Regions from separate parts of the Homo sapiens genome. Here region 1 is linked to region 2. The links are contacts of gene promoters, found by promoter capture Hi-C in blood cells and fetal thymus (Javierre and others, 2016). All regions are on one chromosome and are shown on one strand. The core of a region is centred on a gene start or on the middle of the fragment in contact, and the rest is flanking DNA. Distances in the headings are between cores, read along the strand shown.

The links. Contacts are between HindIII fragments. The CHiCAGO score rates a contact against its expected background, and 5 or more counts as called.
Region 1: a contact is called between a fragment that was not itself captured here and the fragment with the promoter of COXFA4 in region 2, in 1 of 17 cell types (naive CD8 T cells). The highest score is 5.5, in naive CD8 T cells.

What each region holds. Positions count from the first base shown.
Region 1 is chr7:7,961,323-7,968,248 of GRCh38, reverse strand. All of the region lies in intron 1 of GLCCI1-DT (GLCCI1 divergent transcript), which reads left to right. Among named protein-coding and RNA genes, the nearest start is that of GLCCI1-DT, 4.0 kb to the left of the region's middle. The HindIII fragment of the contact is 1,667 bases long and covers 459-2,125 here.
Region 2 is chr7:10,935,288-10,942,088 of GRCh38, reverse strand. COXFA4 (cytochrome c oxidase associated subunit FA4) reads left to right here and starts at 1,936. Exons shown (of 4, transcript NM_002489.4): 1 at 1,936-2,073; 2 at 3,193-3,281; 3 at 3,942-3,999. The coding sequence starts at 2,032. LOC107986767 (a long non-coding RNA gene) reads right to left here and starts at 1,833. Exons shown (of 3, transcript XR_001745091.3): 1 at 1,358-1,833. RefSeq lists a silencer at 1,404-1,653 and enhancers at 879-1,799, 1,684-1,953. The HindIII fragment of the contact is 7,174 bases long and covers 157-6,801 here.

The DNA of each region.
Region 1 (6,926 bases), core at 43-2,542, 3.0 Mb after region 2:
GCACTGAACAAAGTAAAATACTCTTACAGCCTAACATTTGTAGTTATGCAGTGAAAAGAGATTATCAAGTTCTATGTTCCAAGACAATAACACTGAATAGCAGGGGTCAACAAGGAATTTTATGTCATTACACCATCAGTTAGATATATTAATGAAGGGCGCCCCTGGCTTTTCCGAAGCAGATAGCTTCTTGGGAGGAATAAATACCAGATGTAATGTAATAATCCATTGTGGTAAATTTGTTTTTTATTCTGTAATGAAACTGAAAGCGTACAAAGATTTTGGATGACTATCAAAAACATAAATTTACCCCACAGTAAACCAAGGTTTTAAACCTTAATCGGGAGCAATTAATGTAAGGATCTTCATCAGATAACTTTCATTAATTTTCAAGAGGTTAAAAGAGAAGCACAATGTCAAATTGGTCTGCTCGTGGTGTCTGCCCACACTGACAAGCTTCCTCTGATTTCAGGCACTATATGCAGGGGTCACTTTCACGTACAGGAGCCATCCTTCTTTTCTTCCTTGTGTGTTCAGACGAGAAAGCATACTAGGTTCAGTAAAAAAATTGATGAAACTCAATAAAAATACAAAAATTTCATGCAGTACTTCATCCAAGTAAAACTAGTGATAGTTCCTCAGTTTACCACATATTATAATAAGAGCTAACATTTATTCACCATGTGCCAGCCGCTATTCTAAGAACATTATGTGTGTTAATTCATTCAGTCCTCATATAATCCACAAGGTAGATACTATTATTATCCTTACTGTGGTCTCAGTTGTGGCATAAATAAGCTGTCTTGCCTGAGATCACATAGTTAGTATATGGGGAGCTAAAAATTTCACCCAGACAGACTGGCTCAAGAGTCTGAGGAAGCACTCTGCTATAGTACCTGGCAGCTCAAAGCTGTGGGGTACATAATCTGTAGAGTATTCACAATGGCCCACAAATCTCATCTGTGAGATAAGTTCCCATCAGTTCAAAGGAAATTTTACAAATGAAGACAGACCACTACTTTTTTTTTGTTTTCCAGAATAACATATATTTTAATTATGAATAAAAACTTTACTCTTTCAAATTTTATATAAATGGCCTATCTCATTAATTTAAAAACTGCATTATTTTGTGTGTAAAAAGAATGATAAATGATTTCTTTTCAGTGACTTTTCTCAGAATAGCAAGAACAAAAAATCTGACAGATTAAAAATATGTAAAGCTGGCTAGGTGCGGTGGCTCACGCCTGTAATCCCAGCTCCTTGGGAGGCCAAGGCAGACGGATCACTTGAGCTCAGGATTTTGAAACCAGTCTGGGCAACATGGCAAAACCCCATCTCTACTAAAAATGTAAAAATACTAGCTGGACGCGGTTAGGGAGGCTGAGGTGGGAGGATCACCTGAGCCCAAAAGGCCGGGAGATCAAGGCTGCAGTGAGCCTTGATCACACCACTGCACTCCAGCTTGGGTGACAGAATGACACCCTGTCTCAAAAAAAAAAAAAAAAAAAAAAAAAAGAAGAAGAAGAAGAAAAAAAGTTAAGATTTTTCTTTTACATGCTGGTAAATTTCTGAGTTGTTGCTTTGATTACAGCATAGTTGCATTATAGAAATGTCATCTCTAGCTACTCCTAAATATATTTATGGAACAACTTCAACACATTAGGTTACAATAATTCTAAATTTATTCTAGGTCACAATCACAATGATCAATACCTAATTTGGATCTAAAGCAACATACCTAGTCATATTTTAAGGACTTTCTGTGTTTGTTCAAATCTACCACAGCTGACTTAGACATCTAAAGCAAATCTAAATAACTCACACAGAGAAACAGAGAATTAGTATGATCTTAAAATACTATTTTCAGTTACTAGTAAGTCATTATGACCAATCTAGAAGCTCAGTCGTTTCTCTTTGCTATAGAAACCTTGGTTGTCTCTTAAACCTTTATTCTCACGACGTAAGTACTGATCTTCATATTTAAGGAATACAGGCTTCAAACAAATCAAAGGTGGCCTAAAATAAATTAAACTCAGTGCCTGCTTTCAAATGTCCATTTGTTGAGTTCTTGATAATATTTTATTCTTATTGAGGACAAAGTAAGCTCCAAGGATATATAGAAGCTTTAAGAAAATGTTCTTAGTAAATTGGAAACCCCCTAGAATGAGATGTGGATTGCTAGGCTAGAAGAGCGTTGTTATGCTACTATGCTAGCTATGGGGTAGTTAGGCCTAGTGCCGATTTTCCATACTGGTTGAATGTAAGTGTAACAATCTCTGAAAATCTTATATAAGACTTAATGTTAACAATGACCTCTTACTATGTTGTCCTGTGTAAAGAAGACAAAATTGAAGGCACAATTTGGTGGCATGAGAAATACTTCTGTATCAGTAGCCCCATGCCATGGCTATCTGTGGGACGAGGATCTGCCATTAGCTAATCTGAGGTAGAATTCTGTTCTACTTTCTTCTTAGTGCAAATATGGTAATAGACTACATTTTAGGTTAAATTAAAACTTGGAATCATTGGTTACATGCGATTTATATGCAGCCCTATGTGGAGAGATCATAAGATGAAGAAGCCACAGAGCCCACAGAGCTACCAAAACCTTCCTCTTCTAGCTCCATCTGGGTTTGCCTGGCTGAGCATCCAAGGCCCATCCAAATCTGAGAGGCAGTCCAGGCTGTCAGTATTTGCAATGAGGTCATGGCTGGGAGAGAACACTAAACAGATCTGCACTGATGTTCATCTTAAGCTGATTAAACTCTCTTGTAGATTGATTCCTAATAGCAACAACAACAAAAAAGCCTTGACTGAATTTTTGTCCCTGGCAGATGCTTAAATTAAACTCCTTACTGCTTGTGACAGCCTACGTGCACCTTTGCACTAGGTGTTCCCTCTGCCTGAAAGGTTCTTGCCCAGATATCCACATGGCTTGCTCACTCATTTCCATCAGGTCTTTACTCAAATGTCACCACCTTTATGATGAGAGCTTTCCTGAACACTTTTTTAAAAATTGTAAGCACCCCTCGGCTTTTCCTGCTCTTTATCCTACTCTTTTTGCAGAGTACTTATCAGCAACCAAACCATAATATATTATAATTATTTTTTGTTTTGTCTGTCTAGAATAGAACAGCCATGAAGTGAAGACTTTTTATCAGTTTTATAACTGCTGAATCTCTACAACAGTGCTTAGTATATGGTAGATGATCAATAAATATTTGTTTAATGTTGTTAAGAGTGGCAAATTTTAGCCAGTGTTTATCTTATGAACTAAAACTTGTGCTTTTCCTCAGGAAAAAAAATCTAACAGGTGTATCTCTGCTACAAAAGCCTAGTCGCAGAGTAGAAAAATATCTGATGTGGCTACTGTAAACCACACAGATATTTGTATTGAAGCTGCCATTCAAAAAGATAGAATACCTTGCATTATGGTTGTTAGACCTACTGGCTCCTGGAGGCTCATCAGAGGATGAAAATGGAAAATGGGGGCCAGGCATATTCCCAACTACTGGCAAGGCTGAGGCAGAGGACCGCTTGAGCCCAGTAGTTTGAGGTTACAGTGAGCTATGATTGTGCCACTGCACTACAGCCTGGGTGACAGAGTGGGAACCTATCTCCAAAAGAAGGAAAATAGAATTGGCAATGGAGAAAAGGCATTGAAAAAAAAAGGACAACTGAAATAAACAGAGAAAACTGAAGAGGATCACTTAAGGAGTGACATCTGCTGATTGGTATTTAGTTCTATCTCACTATTAAGAAGAGCTATTCTCAAGAGACCTGTGTAAAGGAACTGAAAATAAATGATAATTAAGTAGACGAGACTATTATATGTAAATAATGAAAACTTTGTTTCTAAAAGAAGTTCAGAAGAAGCAATAGTAATAGATATTTTATTTTTAACTGGTAAGGTCATCCAGAATAAGTGTACAGTTATTTCTCAAAAATAGAAAACAGTAATGAAAACCACTGGTTTTTCAGATTTTCATCGCCATAGCAGCTCCAATTGCCAACTATGATGCCAGTGGCACCTCCAATGCATCTTAAGCTGATGCATAATACTCTCACCATGTAACTAAAAGACTATATTGTATAAAGTCAGCACATTCACAGGTAAAACTTGGGGGCCAAAGGACTATAAATATTCTCTTTCTATGGTGTGACATTCTATTTGTTTTAGTCCCAAATAGAGTGTTCATAATACCTGAAAGCAATAGTAGTCCTATGAAGGGAATATGTTTGATTATCATAATGTTATTTTTTTTTATTGAGAGTTGAAAGTCATTAAAGTATGTCATAGGTTTCTTCCTATGTGGCCAAATCTTATTTTTTGCCACACGAGTAAGTGTGTTGAGGGACTGTTGTTAGGGTGCCGTCAATTCATCAGCAGTGCTGGACTAGAGAAGTTTCTTTTTATTATTTTAAACTTTTTGAAACACAATTTTCAGAGTGCCCTACTCAGCATCTTATTGAAAAGGTCCATATTAATGCCCCTAATAAGGCTAAATGCGGGCTTAGTAGCAACAATACTAGCATCAAGCCATAGCAACTCCTTGTCAGGTTACTTATTGAATGTTTTTGAAGTGTCAGACACTGTTTTACACTCAGTAGGGTTTACCTGTTCTCACACTTTGGTAAAGAGGAGTAAAAAGATATGCCGACAAAGCTAAAGCCATATCTACAGATTTGCCTTATATAAAAAGGATGTAAATAGAGTATTATTGAAGTGAGGGAAAGGAAAGCTCACTTGAGAAAAGGCTTCAGGAAGAAGAGTATGAAGAAGTCATGTAGGTAGGAATGCACAAAACCAGGCAGAAGATGATTGAACAGTTTGCCTTTGGCTGATGGTTAATGGAAGATAAGTCTTAGCCTGTTGATGACGGGTCATGACGGCCCTTGGTTGCCAGGTAAGGTTTGCACTTTATTGGATATGCAGTGAGGAGCTGTTGAAGATTCTTGAATGGGTGGAGAGAACATGAGTGGAGCTGTGCTTTATGAAGATTAATGCAAGAATAGCTTAAAGCATTGAATTAGAGATTGATGGTTGGAAGACGATGTAGAAGGTTTAGAGGATACTCCACATTAGTTTAGGTGGCATGAGTCAGGGGAATGACAAAGGACATGGAGAGTGAAATAAGGTGAAAGTCATGCTCCTTCTCAGCTGATGATCATGTGGACTTTGAAAAGAGAACGCCAGACAGTTCTGAAGATTCAAGCTTGGATGCCTGAGAAGATAGTCATGGCTTTAACACAAACAAGGCAGCTAAGGGAAGGAGGAGGTTTGGTGAAAAGATAATGAGTTCAGCTATAAATAAAATAACCAGAGAATATCCAAATAGAGACAGCTTTTAAACGACAGTGAAGTTGAGAAGACAAGAGATATAGATTTGGGGGCTATCCATGTCCATATGGTAGCTGAAGCCATGGTCACAAAGGAGAAAAGCATAGAAATGAAAAGAAGGTGAAAAACAAAATTGTGAAAATTTATACGTGAGTCATGGAGGGATAAGTAAAAAACAAAACAAAACAACAACAACAAAAAAAAAATGAAAGAAAACAATACTAGAAAAGAAGGCAGGGCAGAAGTACTCCTTAAAATAGAGTTCAGGGTCTCAGAAAATAAGTTTGGTAGCTGCTTCGTGGGTCATCTGACAAACTAATATCCCTCTTCTCTGAGAACCAATCCTCCCCCAACACATAGAGGGTTTGGGCCTGACAGCTATGTATGTCCCAAATAACCTTGCCCCTCTGGCCATGGTTGATTTCACCCGAGTTCAACAACTGACTAAAGCTGGGCCAATTAAATTTTCTCCTTTGGGAATCTGAAATTAAGAAATAAAATATTTTTCTATAAAGAATTGTGCATAGAGTGGCCATTTTCTGTCATGGGCACAGAGAAGCAGAGGAAACCTGCCTTCTGAGAGAAAAGAATGAAGTGACTTACAGAAAGAAGGAGAAATCACACCAGGTGACCAGAAAGAGGGAGAGAGTCTGAGAGGAAGTTCACTTTCCCATGATGATTATTTTGTTTCTTATGCATTTTATTCAATCCTCCAAAACCACCCCAACTCCAGACCCATTCCTGCTGATACATCTCCACTACAGTCCCACCATCAAATCTATGATTTTTTCAACATTTGGATCAATTTCTTTTTCCTTTCTGTACAGGTAATACATGTTCTCCTTTCCTATCGAAAGCCATCTCCTCCACTTCTGATTTAAATTCTGACCCTCTTGTCTCTCAGGGACTTCATTTCTGCAGTTATTATCTCCATCTTCTTCATCATCAAATTATTGATTTTTCCCAGTAATGTTTGAACATGCTGTTATGCCAACATTTACTTTAAAAGGCAAAACAAAGATTCTTCTGCCATCCCTTTCCATCTATGGTCCAAATTCTTTGATCTTGTCACAGCAACAGTTCTTGACAGAGATGTCTACATGTTACTTCTGATATCCTATTTAATCCTATTAATCTACTATTTTCCTGTTTAGTCTATTCCAATCTGGCTTCATGCCACTGAAAACTGCTAATCAATATCAACTGCCTCCATATTGCCAGACCCAGTGGATATTTCTGGGACCTCTTCCTTTTCCAGCTTTTAGCAGTTTTCCACATTGCTGGTCAGGCTCAGTTCTTTAAAAAAATCTCTTCTATAGGAGTCTGGGACACTGTACTCACCTGTTCTGTTTCCTACTTCTCTAACCACTACTGCTCAGTGCTCTTCAGGTTCTTCCTCCTCTAGTTCCCTCTAAAAATTGGCCTCTATTCTCTGCTTGCTTCTGTATAAACTCACCTTCTTGGTAATCTTAGACATTCCCATGGCTTTAAATACTGCAAAATGCTGGCAACTCCTAAATGAAACTCTCCAGCCCAGACATTTCCTCCAAGATTCATATTTGTATATTCAGTTGCCTGCTTGATA
Region 2 (6,801 bases), core at 687-3,186:
GTCTTCCTCAATTAGTATGTAAGCTCCATTAGCAACGCAGAGTAATTTTCTTGTTCACTGCTATAACTCTAGTGGCTAGAACAGTGCCTAGTGGAGAGTAGGTACTTAAGAAAGATTTGCTGAATGAATGAAAAAAGACACCAGTCTTGATAAGCTTCATGACATATCACCTTAACAGTTACCATCTATTTTTTTTTTCCTACCTACTGGCCATACCTCCTCTTCTAAGCATTGCATGTTGGAATTCCTCGGCTCTGTGTCCTCTGTCTAAATTCTCAGTCAACTTTCTCTCCCTAAGTAATCTCATTCAGTCACATGGGTTCATTTCTTATCAGTAAACTGAGTCCTAAATTTATACTTATAGTGTAGTTCTCTTCTGCCCCATAGAGATCCACTTGAATTTTACATAGGCACTTATACATCATTCTCTACGGCTTATTTCAATAACTGGCATCAACAACCACAGAGCTGCTCAAAACTGAACCTCTGAAATTATTCTTAACTTCTCTCTCCTCACTCCTGGAGAGCCAACCACCAAGTCCTGTTGGTGCCACCTTCTAAACATCTCTGGAATCTTTTTTTCTCATCATTACATTCTCTACACTAGTTCAAGCTACCATTATCTGTCACACAGATTATGGACTATTGCAATGGCCCCTTGATAGGTCTTTCCCCTCTCACGCTTATCCCTTCTAATCAATTATTCACAAAGCAATCATTTAAAAACACAACCTTCCCAAGCTCTCAACATAAAACCCATGATGTTTAAGCGGTTATTGGCCCAGCAGATCTGATCCCCACCTTGCTCTCCCTTTTACTTTCCAGCCACACTAGACCTCATACAGCTCCCTCGGGTTTTCAATAGCTTCAGACCTTCACGTGTTATTACCTCCGCCCTGTACACCTGCATCCTCCGTTTTCACCTGGTTAATGTCCGCTCCTCCTTCAGAGCTAGTGTAACTTCCGGTGGAGCCTTCTCCTATGATTTCTAGTCCCAATTATTAATACTTGCTTGATCATTTGATTAATGCTTTAAGCTACGTATGAGATTGGAGAGGGTTCAGAGTGTACATTTTATCCCAATCCCCCCACCCTCCCCCGCAAAGCCTGTCCTATGGAAGTCCTTCGGGTAAAAAAAACAACGAAGAAAACAAAACAAAAGACAAATGAAAATTCGACTGGGGTAGTGGGAAAGATTATCTGTAGCTACACGACCATTGAAAACACATTTTAAAGATGCAATTTGGGACCAGGGACGGGGGATAGTGGCGTGTTGGAAAGGTCTTTGTGGCGACGAACTTTCAACCGAGGGCCAGGATCTGAGGGTTCAGAAATACACTGCCAGGACTATTATCACCTTTAAGTCATTTACTAGTTTTTAACTTCTGCTTGTCTGCGACAGCGTAACACAGGAAGCAGCTGCAGTCTTCTCAAACCGCAGCCGCTGACCTTAGCGGCAAGAGGCCCGACCTGCCCTCCAGGCGCCCGGCGCTCGGCTCCCAGAGGCGCCGCGCAGCTCCCTCAGCGGCAGTCACAGCTGGCCAGCGCGCACCCGGCACGCGCGCCCCCAGGGCCTCTGCGCGCGGACCCGGCTCTCAGGCGCCGCGGGAGAGGCCCCCTACTCACGGAGCGCGCGGCCCGTGCGCCCACGCTCCGACCGCATTCCTCAGTACGTGGCACCCTTGGAAAGTGCCTGTCTGGTCAATCGAAGAGTCCTCGTTTCGACCAAAAAAATTCCCCTCAGAAATATGCATGGCACGGCAATGAAGGCATTTCACTATGAAGTGGAATGATGATGGTCCGACCAGGTCAGGACGAACATATGAGGGGTTAGATCTAAGCAGGCACTATTAAAGACAGTCGCATCCGGGCCCTCCTGCCGCAAGCTGCCCTCCCAGCCAAGGGTCCTTCAGGTAGGAGGTCCTGGGTGACTTTGGAAGTCCGTAGTGTCTCATTGCAGATAATTTTTAGCTTAGGGCCTGGTGGCTAGGTCGGTTCTCTCCTTTCCAGTCGGAGACCTCTGCCGCAAACATGCTCCGCCAGATCATCGGTCAGGCCAAGAAGCATCCGAGCGTAAGTTCGTGACCGCTCTCCTAATGTTTTCCCTTGTCCTTCTTGCGTCGGGGTGCGCCTCTTTCTGTTCCCTGGGAACGTCCTCATTTACAGCCACTTACCGTCCGTCAGACCAGACCCTGCCTCGCCTAGTGTTTGTCATCTTAGTTGTCCCAGGCCTCTGTGACCCTCTACGCCATGCATTGTGGGGTTTTGTCTGACAGGAGGAAGGAGACGGACACTGCTCGGAAAAAAAACCTAGTTTTTTCTAGTTAGTGAATATTGGAACAGTCTGGTGGCCGCTCTCTTTTGCAGGTTGTGCGGTCCAGGAGGGATAGATGTGCGCTGTGTGGGTCAGAGACTAGCATAGGTCAGGTTCCCTATGTGTTATACCATCTCTGGAGGTTCTTGTATTCGCCGCATTGCACCACCAGGCCTTTTGGTAAATAAGAGGGGTCCGTGATCTTGGAATCCTCACTTTGTCTGGACGTCGTTGCTTTTGGGAAAATTTCGAAGTGTGGAAATTGCAGTTAAGTTCTTTGGCATCTCATTTTTCCTCAGCACATCAATGTGCTGTAGAGCTAAAAGTCTATGCAATCTTTAATCTGTCTTAAATCCGGTTCCCTAAATACGCAGCAAGCATTGGTAGCATTACGTTTTCAGAGATAATGCTTAAAGCCAGTATTTGTAATAGATACGTTTACTTATTCAGATTCTATTTTTCATACATCTTTATAGAGGCACCCTTAAATAATTTGCAAAGAATTTGTTTTTCAAGCCCCAGGATAAAGGAAGCCAGAAAATTTAATGGGAATGACATGTAAATATTAGAGAGGTGAAGAAGACTCGATACATTTTCTTGGAAATTTAAAAATGTACCTATAATTTGCTCCACATTAAAAAGTAAGACACTTAAACCAGAGTCATCTTAACATCCTTTCCAAATTCCATTTCTTTCTTTAGAACACAGTTATAAGAAATCTTACCTCAATGTAAGATCTACTTTATTTAAATTTTAAGACAAAACAGTCCAATAACAGTTTGAGACTTGGAAATCAATGTGCAGAAACTACTGTAATCTCTCGTTGGCCAGTGTTTTAAGTATTTGAAGATGGTTATTCTATTTTGTGTTTGGTTTAGTTGATCCCCCTCTTTGTATTTATTGGAACTGGAGCTACTGGAGCAACACTGTATCTCTTGCGTCTGGCATTGTTCAATCCAGATGTTTGGTAAGTACTTAAAAATGTTTAAAACTTTGATAGCTGATCAAGGCAGTTTAGGAGCCACAGTCTCTGTAGGGCGATAACATTAGGGTAGTAGAAAGAATGTTACATTTACAGTCATACAATAAGTTCAGATCTCAAATCTGCTGTTTTCATTTACTTTTTTTGGTTCATGAAATTATCTAATTTCTCTGAGTCTCGTTTTCTCTTTGGTAAAGTAGAACTGCTAATACCAAATCTTGTAATGTTTTGAGGATTGACATAAAAATAATTGTTTTTATAAAATAATCATGGTTCTCGGCACATGTAAATGTTTTTTGCCTTCACTTGCACATTTGCAGTTGAAAAACAATAGACAATCAAAAGATTGATTCATCATTATTCTATGCACTTTTCTGTATATCACTTTATTAATTAAATGGAAAGGTTTTGTGAAAGCCAGATAAAAAGTATCTTGTGATAGGGATTCTGTGTTCTACCTTTTTTCTAATTGATTACATGAGATTGCTTATTATAGATCCTCTACCTGTTTCAACTTCATAATGAAATAACACCATACCTCATCTAATAGAAAATAAGATTGATCTGTTCAAAAATGTATTCTTAGTACAAAACACTAAATAGTGCTTTATTATTATAACAGTCGTAATGTTTTATTTCTTTTAGTTGGGACAGAAATAACCCAGAGCCCTGGAACAAACTGGGTCCCAATGATCAATACAAGGTAAACTACAAAATTGTTTTAAAGTTGTTAGAAATTGTGTTGTAATAAGTTTTGTCATGGGGTGGGTTTTCTTGAAACTGGATATACGAGTAAAATTCCATTATATTGAACTTTAAAGAGCTGTTAGGTAGTTCTGTGAAATGAAAATGGTATATTGCTCTAATAAATATTTTTTGCTAGGTATTTAATTGCTAGTATAAGAAAAGAAGGAAAAATAGTATAGCTATCATTTACCATTTTCTTAGTTCTTAGGTAGTCTAACACAGTGTTCTCAAACTTCATTATACATAGAGCTTGTTGAAACACAGATTCTTCAGCCTTATCCCCAGAGATTCTGATTCAGCTGGTCTTTTGTGGGGCATGAGAATTTAGAGTAGTCTGTGGAACTACTCTTCTAGAGAATGATTTCATGGACTGAGACCATTTATTGATTCCCCAAACATAACCTTCCTTATGTGTAAAAAATTTTGCATACAAAGACCCTGCACAGCATCAAAACCAAGGGCAGGCCAGGCACGGTGGCTTATGCCTGTAATCCCAGCACTTTGGGAGGCTGAGGCGGGCAGATCACTTGAGATCAGGAGCTGGAAATCAGCCTGGCCAATATGGTGAAACCCCATCTCTACTAAAAATACAAAAATTAGCTGGGCATGGTAGTAGGTACCTGTAATCACAGCTGCTCGGGAGGCTGAGGCAGGAGAATCGCTTGAACCTGGGAGGTGGAGGTTGCAGTGAGCCAGGATCACGCCACTGCACTCCAACCTGGGCAACAGAACCAGACTCTGTCTAAAAAAAAAAACCCAAAAAACCAAGGGCGGCTTCATTAAGATACCATACCATTCACATACCATACAGTTGACGTGTTTAAAGTTTATAACTCACTCAATGCACTTTCCATAATATCAAGCCATTTCATCAAAAGAGAGTAACTGGCTGTTTGATTTATCACTCTGAAGAACAGGGTCCCCGATCAGTGTGTGTCCAGCACTGCTTGACAGGTGTACATCTATGATGGATTATTACTCATAGCAACGTTTTTTTGTTGTTGTTGTTGGAGACAGAGTCTCACTCTGTCGCCCAGGCTGGAGTGCAGTGCCATTATCTTGGCTCACTACAGCCTCCACTTCCCAGGCTCAAGTGATTCTCTTGCCTCACTCTCCTGAGTAGCTGGAACTATGGCACGCACAACCACACCCAGCTGATTTTTTGTGTTTTTAGTAGAGATGGGGTTTTGCCGTGTTGGCCAGGCTGGTCTTGAACCCCTGGCTTCAAGTTGATCCGTCTGTCTCAACCCCCCAGTGCTGGTATTACAGACGTGAGCCACTGTGCCCGCAGCCTGATAGCAACTTTTAACATCACCCTTTGTGGATTTCACGTTTTCCCCTTAACCTGATTATAATTTGGCTTCTAAATCCTTCAGTAAATCTCCTTACAAGAAGAAAATAAAAATGCAATGGCTAAGCTGAAACATCGATCTCATCTGTGTTATATTTTGCCTCTAAAAAGATAAACGGGCATCCTGATTTGTTTTTATGTCTTATGACATTGTTTATGAATTTGTTTAAACTAAGTCCATTCCAGAGAAAATAATTCCACATACAAGAAACTTTTAAAAAGTAAACAAACAAACAAAAAAACTAGCAGGCTTTGATTCTTCCACCAAAGAGCGTATTGGAATCTATGGGTATGTGTAGTTCAAAAAGTGTAACAGATGATTCCGATAATGCAGCCAGTCTACTAATGTTCTGAAATATCACAACACATGCCAATATGAGGCCTTGGGAACCGAAAATGAAATGTTGCTGTAACAACATAGCTGTTAATAGCTATGACACTGATAGCAGAGTCTGGAAAGATGAAGAGTGTCATGTTATGAAATGACAGAAATGAAAAGGAACCAAATCCAGAAACTTGAGAAGCTGGAGTAAATGAAACCTACTTAATACTTTTTCTAAACCCATTCAGGTAGACTAGATTATTATCTCCATCATTCACAATCTCTCACCTAAGAGAATATGTTTTTCTGGCCCACTGACATCAGATTTGATTTGTGACTTGCTGTGGGAAATTATGAGTTGGAGGAAATGATACCTGCCACTCTTGGACCATTATGTGGTCCCTCCGTTCTTTTGCTTCTCTCATGAGACCAAAATTGACAAGTAAGGGCTACTTATTCACCTTAGAATTGGAATGAAACAAATATGGAGCAATCAGCATACAGATGGCATATAATGTGAGTGAAAAGTGAACTTTTGTCGTTGTAAGCCGCTAAGATTTGAATGTGTTAATTTGGGCTGCCGTAACAAGATACTGTAGACCAGGTGGCTTAAACAACAAATTTATTCCTCAGTCCGGAGGCTGGGAAGTCCAGATCAAGGTGCCAACCAATTCTGTTCCTCATGAGGGCCCAATCCAGTTGTGTCCTCACAATATGGAAGGAGAGGAGTGAGCCCTCCTGTAAAGGCACTAGTTAGAGTGTTCCACCCTCATGACCTAATTACCTCTCAAAGGCCCAGCCTCCAAATACCATCACCATTGGCGTTTGAGGTTACAACATGAATTTTGGGAGGACATAAACATTCAGTCCGTAGCAGAGGATTATTTGTTGCCATGCTATAATCTAGCAAAAGCTATGAATAAAACAGCAAGAGACAGGACCAAAATAAGATTTGAGCATTAAAGGCCCAGCAATACTTCTCAACTGAATAACAGTTGAAGCTCCCCAAAGCTAAGATCAGAATATGTTGTGCCTTCCCAACTATTGTTTCAGAGACTCTAAAAGTAGCCAGCATTAAACTGAGA